Linked DNA regions of Homo sapiens: region 1 is linked to region 2. The links are contacts of gene promoters, found by promoter capture Hi-C in human tissues and cell types (Jung and others, 2019). All regions are on one chromosome and are shown on one strand. The core of a region is centred on a gene start or on the middle of the fragment in contact, and the rest is flanking DNA. Distances in the headings are between cores, read along the strand shown. Region 1 overlaps TSPEAR (thrombospondin type laminin G domain and EAR repeats). Region 2 holds the start of KRTAP10-1 (keratin associated protein 10-1).

The links. The method cuts DNA at HindIII sites, captures the fragments that hold promoters and counts their contacts. A contact is called where the count stands out against the background at its distance.
Region 1: a contact is called between a fragment that was not itself captured here and the fragment with the promoter of KRTAP10-1 in region 2, in 2 of the 25 tissues and cell types used here (lymphoblastoid cells and mesendoderm cells).

The regions. Positions count from the first base shown.
Region 1 is chr21:44,500,690-44,503,389 of GRCh38, reverse strand. All of the region lies in intron 11 of TSPEAR (thrombospondin type laminin G domain and EAR repeats), which reads left to right. Among named protein-coding and RNA genes, the nearest start is that of TSPEAR-AS1, 4.0 kb to the left of the region's middle. RefSeq lists an enhancer at 1-228. The HindIII fragment of the contact is 6,330 bases long and covers 1-2,700 here.
Region 2 is chr21:44,538,791-44,541,490 of GRCh38, reverse strand. It overlaps KRTAP10-1 (keratin associated protein 10-1), which reads left to right and starts at 1,296. Exons shown (of 1, transcript NM_198691.3): 1 at 1,296-2,510. The coding sequence starts at 1,341. The coding sequence ends at 2,189. All of the region lies in intron 2 of TSPEAR (thrombospondin type laminin G domain and EAR repeats), which reads left to right. RefSeq lists an enhancer at 1,894-2,558. The HindIII fragment of the contact is 21,448 bases long and covers 1-2,700 here.

The sequences.
Region 1 (2,700 bases), core at 63-2,562, 38 kb after region 2:
CCCGCCGAGGGCTCACCGAGGCCGGCTTCCTCCCAGAGCCTTGCTTCCCCCCGAGGGCTCACCAAGGCCGGCCTCCTCCCAGAGCCTTGCTTCCCCCCGAGGGCTCACCGAGGCCAGCTTCCTCCCAGCACACTGCTTCCCCCCGTGGGCTCACCAAGGCCGGCCTCCTCCCAGCGCCTTGCTTCCCCCCTGTGGGCTCACCAAGGCCGGCTTCCACCCAAGGGCTCACCGAGGCCGGCCTCCTCCCAGAGCCTTGCTTCCCCCCGAGGACTCACCGAGGCCGGCCTCCTCCCAGAGTCTTGCTTCCCCCTGAGGGCTCACCGAGGCCAGCTTCCTCCCAGAGCCTTGCTTCCCCCCGAGGGCTCACCGAGGCCGGCTTCCTCCCAGCACCTTGCTTCCCCACTGTGGGCTCACCGAGGCCAGCTTCCTCCCAGAGCCTTGCTTCCCCGAGGGCTCACTGAGGCCAGCTTCCTCCCAGCGCCTTACTTCCCCGAGGGCTCACCGAGGCCGGCCTCCTCCCAGAGCCTTGCTTCCCCCCAAGGGCTCACCGAGGCCGGCCTCCTCCCAGAGCCTTGCTTCCCCCCGGGGGCTCACCTTCTCTCGCAGGTGCCACCGGCTCACAGCGAGTCCCAAGTCAGGTGTCATTTCCGAGATTGGCTGGGCCCAGTGGATGGCCCGGCGCTGGCTGCACCCGTGTGGGATCTGAGCTGGGGCCCTGCCCCGGGTGTAGCCACAACCCACGAGTGCTGGTGCTTCTGCCTTTGGATTCTGTCAGGGATGCGGCGTGTGGACATCCTAACATGGGAGTTGTTGATATTTAATTTTTCTCTCATAGACACTGTGGTGTTCTCATTTATTTCCAGGAGTTTTCCAAGTATCGTACGTTTAACGAATGGGGTTGGCTTTTTAACTTTCATTTGCAGCTGCTCATCATGACAATCATTTTCTCGCCCCCTAACCAATCAGTTCTAATAGCTTTTCTTAAAAAGATTCTCAGGGGACTTAGGAATGTAATTACCTCTGAGAATAAAGAACATTTCCCCTTGATTTCTAGTGTTCTAATTGATTATGTAGCTTGCTTCCCTAGCTAAAGATTCCAGAACAATCTTGGATGGCGGCAGAAGTGGCAGCTGTCCCACCTTGCTCTAATTTAACGAGCACATCTGAGCATGGCCGTTTGATGGGCTGTGGGCCATCCGGGCCAGGGCTGAGGTCTCCTTTGGCATCTGTGAGTGCGTGGTGCGGTCCACTATGTTTACTGTTGATGTCATGATTTATAGTGAGACATCTCCTCGCGTTATTAGACCCGATGCCACTTGGTGATGATGCAGAATTATTGAATAAGCCACTGGCTTCCAATTGCCTGTCTTTAAGCTTTTAGCATCTATAATAGGAAATTAGATTGCTCGGTGGTTTTCTTTTGGGGACTTAACTTTATCCAGTTTAAAATGAAGCCTAACAGTAAATACACACTGCAGGGCTTTCTAACTGCACCTGTGGACTGGGATAGTCTGAAGAATAGGATTTTTTCTCTCATTTCTGACAGCTGGGTTAAATTCAGTTATAAAGCCATCTGGGCCTGGGTACCTTTTTAATAATATCTCCTTCTTATTTATTTTTTGGGGGGGACAGGGTCTCACTCTGTAGCCCAGGCTGAAGTGCAGTGGCATAACCTCAGCTCATTGCAGGCTGAAATTCCCAGGCTCAAGCAATCCTCCCACCTCAGCCTCCCTAGTCGCTGGGACCACAGGCATGGGCCAACCATGCCTGGCTAATTTTATTTTTTCTTTTTGGAGATGGAGTCTCGCTTTGTCGCCCAAGCTGGAGTGCAGTGGCCCAGTCTCGGCACACTGCAAGCTCCGCCTCCTGGGTTCACGCCATTCTCTTGCTTCAGCCTCCTGAGTAGCTGGGACTACAGGCACCTGCCACCACACCTGGCTAATTGTTTTGTATTTTTTAGTAGAGATGGGGTTTCACTGTGTTAGCCAGGATGGTCTCGATCTCCTGACCTTGTGATCTGCCCGCCTCGGCCTCCCAAAGTGCTGGGATTACAGGCATGAGCCACTGCGCCTAGCCCATGCCTGGCTAATTTTTGTATTTTTAATAGAGATGGGGTTTCACTATGTTGGCCAGGCTGTTCTCGAACTCCTGACCTCAAGTGATCTGCCCGCCTCAGCCTCCCAAAGTGCTGAGATTATAGGCGTAAGCCACCCCGCCCGGCCATAAATGCTATATTTGAAGGCAATGAGAAAAGGATGGGTTTTACTTGATAACTCCATATGATTCGGGAGATTAGCTTCATGTAATCTGGAAGAAAACAAAGCTTACCCCCACTTCACATTGTACACAAAAATAAATGTTATATGGATTAAAAGTCCAAATGTGAAAAAGAAGAAAAGCTGAAGGCAGTTGTATAACCTCAGGGTTCTATGAAGAAGACAAGCCCAGAAGGAAAGGCACTGGGTCGACCACCTGTGTTAAAAGCTTTCTATGGAAACAGACATCCTATTCAAAAGCAAAAGACAAACTCTTTACCACACACACGACAGAAAACCAACCCTTACAAACTAATAAAAAATGTGTCTTTAAATTTGGAAAAATGGACAAAAGATATAAATATGAATTTTTAGAAGAAAAGATGAACAGTGTGAATAAACATTATAAGGGATTTGTCCTCAAAGCAAAACCCTGCCAGGTTCT
Region 2 (2,700 bases), core at 47-2,546:
AAGTCTCAGCTGTCTTGATACCTCCCGGCCCCTTCGAACAGAGATTTTGTTTGTAAACCAGATTTCCTAATATTTCTCAGCTAGATGGCCAGTCTGATGTAAGCCAGTTCCCCACACACGAAAGGAGAACTTGACAGAGCATTTTATACAGCATAAGAAAAAGGTGGCACAATGGAATCGCGTTCAGAGCTCAAAATTACTCTTCAATAATTTCTCCAAAAAAGTTTATTATTTCAGCCCATTTTTATAAAGGCTTTTCCTTGGGCCAGGCATGATTTTAGGCCTTTGAAGACTGAGTGGTGAACAAGACAAACACACTCCCTGCTCACATGCAGCTTACGTTTGAAGAAAGGAAGCTGAGGACAGCAAGGACAATGAACAGGAACAGGGAAGACACGTGGTGCAGAAATACTGATGATGGCCAGGCACCGGGCTCACGCCTGCAATCCCAGTACTTTGGCCAAGGCAGGAGGGATCACTTGAGACGCCATCTGTACAAAAAAAAAAAAAAATAAATTTAAGAATATTGATAACGGGACTTGAGTTATCTATGGTTGAAGCACATCATAAAGCTATGGCCTTTAAGAGCAGAACCAAATCCATGGGCCAGTTCAAAACTTTTCTTTCCTGTCCGAAACCCAGTCCTATCCCCAGCGTTCCCACACCAACGTCTGAGTGGACCTCGGGGAAGGCCGTGGGGAGGGGCATGGCCTCTCCTTCCTTGCTCCCCTTCTCCCTGTTTGGGGCTCTAATTTCTTCAGTGATGGGGATGGGGGAAGGAATGTGCAGGGCCACCACTGTGGGGTTCGCTGGCCACTGCTGCACCTTCTCTCCGGCTGCTCCAGTGATCCTGTGCTTCTACCAGCTGCTTCTGCCTCTTCAGTGAGGACCCGCTTTAGGGAGGAGACGCCCCCACGATCGTGAGTGGGACAGCTCTCACCCTGGCATGCCACACTTTGCATAAGGCTGAAGGGCCACCCCTGCCTCCGCAGCCCCCTTCTTACAACCCGGACTGCACTGGTGGCGTGCTGGGACCAGGTCCACCTCCACTCTTGCCCCCAGGGATCCACATGGGACAGGCTACAGCCCAGACAGGACAGGAGATTTATGACCTGGGCCACATCACAGGCAAACAAACATCCCTAGTCATGACACACGCCACCTCTCAGCAACCAGGAAGGGGACGCTGTGGGCCCTGGAACAACAAGGCCAGAAGGGGTATAAAAGCAGAGCCCCACGAAGCTCACACACTCACTCACACACTCAGTCACTCACACACACACTGACTCCCACACTCACTCACTCACACCTCCCGCAGCTCACCTCCTCCCCACCCCAGCATGGCCGCGTCCACCATGTCCGTCTGCTCCAGCGCTTGCTCCGACTCCTGGCAGGTGGATGCCTGCCCAGAGAGCTGCTGTGAGCCCCACTGCTGCGCCCTCAGCTGCTGCGCCCCGGCCCCCTGCCTGACCCTGGTCTGCACCCCAGTGAGCCGTGTGTCCAGCCCCTGCTGCCAGGCAGCCTGTGAGCCCAGCCCCTGCCAATCAGGCTGCACCAGCTCCTGCACGCCCTCGTGCTGCCAGCAGTCTAGCTGCCAGCCGGCTTGCTGCACCTCCTCCCCCTGCCAGCAGGCCTGCTGCGTGCCCGTCTGCTGCAAGCCTGTGTGCTGCCTGCCCACCTGCTCTAAGGATTCCTCTTCATGCTGCCAGCAGTCTAGCTGCCAGCCAACTTGCTGTGCCTCTTCCTCCAGCCAGCAGTCCTGCTGTGTGCCTGTTTGCTGCAAGCCTGTGTGCTATGTGCCCACCTGCTCTGAGGATTCCTCTTCATGCTGCCAGCAGTCTAGCTGCCATCCAGCTTGCTGCACCTCCTCCCCCTGCCAGCAGGCCTGCTGCGTGCCCGTCCGTTGCAAGCCTGTCTGCTGCAAGCCCATCTGCTGTGTGCCCGTCTGCTCTGGGGCTTCCACTTCATGCTGCCAGCAGTCTAGCTGCCAGCCGGCTTGCTGCACCACCTCCTGCTGCAGACCCTCCTCCTCCGTGTCCCTCCTCTGCCGCCCTGTATGCCGGCCCGCCTGCTGTATGCCTGTCTCCTCCTGCTGTGCCCCTGCCTCCTCCTGCCAGGCCAGCTGCTGCCGCCCGGCCTCCTGCGTGTCCCTCCTCTGCCGCCCCGCGTGCTCCCGCCCGGCCTGCTGAGGCCTCTGCTCAGGCCAGGAGTCCAGCTGCTGATGGGCACCCGCCCTGGGCCAGCTGGGCTCAGTTCCTGACCTGGGTTAGGTGGCTTCCCCCACCTAGGACGGGTCCCCGTGTCTCCCCTGTGCTGAGGTGACCCCCCCTCCTTGCTCCCAGGAGCCTCCATCCTTGCAGCTCCCCAGCTCTTGCCTTCCAGCAGGTGCCCACCTGCCTGCTAGGTCCCCTGTCCTCCCTCCCAGCTTCTCTGCTCTGGGTCACTTGGCCTCGACTTGAACCTCTCAGCACCTCCTCCTGCTCCCCAATAAACTCTCCTTGGTCACCTGATTCTCTTTTCTGTTGTGTTCCTGGGGGACACATGGTTTTGAGCTGACATTGGTCTCCTCCAGCCATGATTATTTTTAGGAATGAGTGACTTAACCTAGAAGTCACAGGGGACAGTGGCCTAACTCCTCCAGGGGGTCACCAGGTGGGACTCACGGTCACTCCCAGGAAGGCTCAGTCCCAGCTCAGCCCC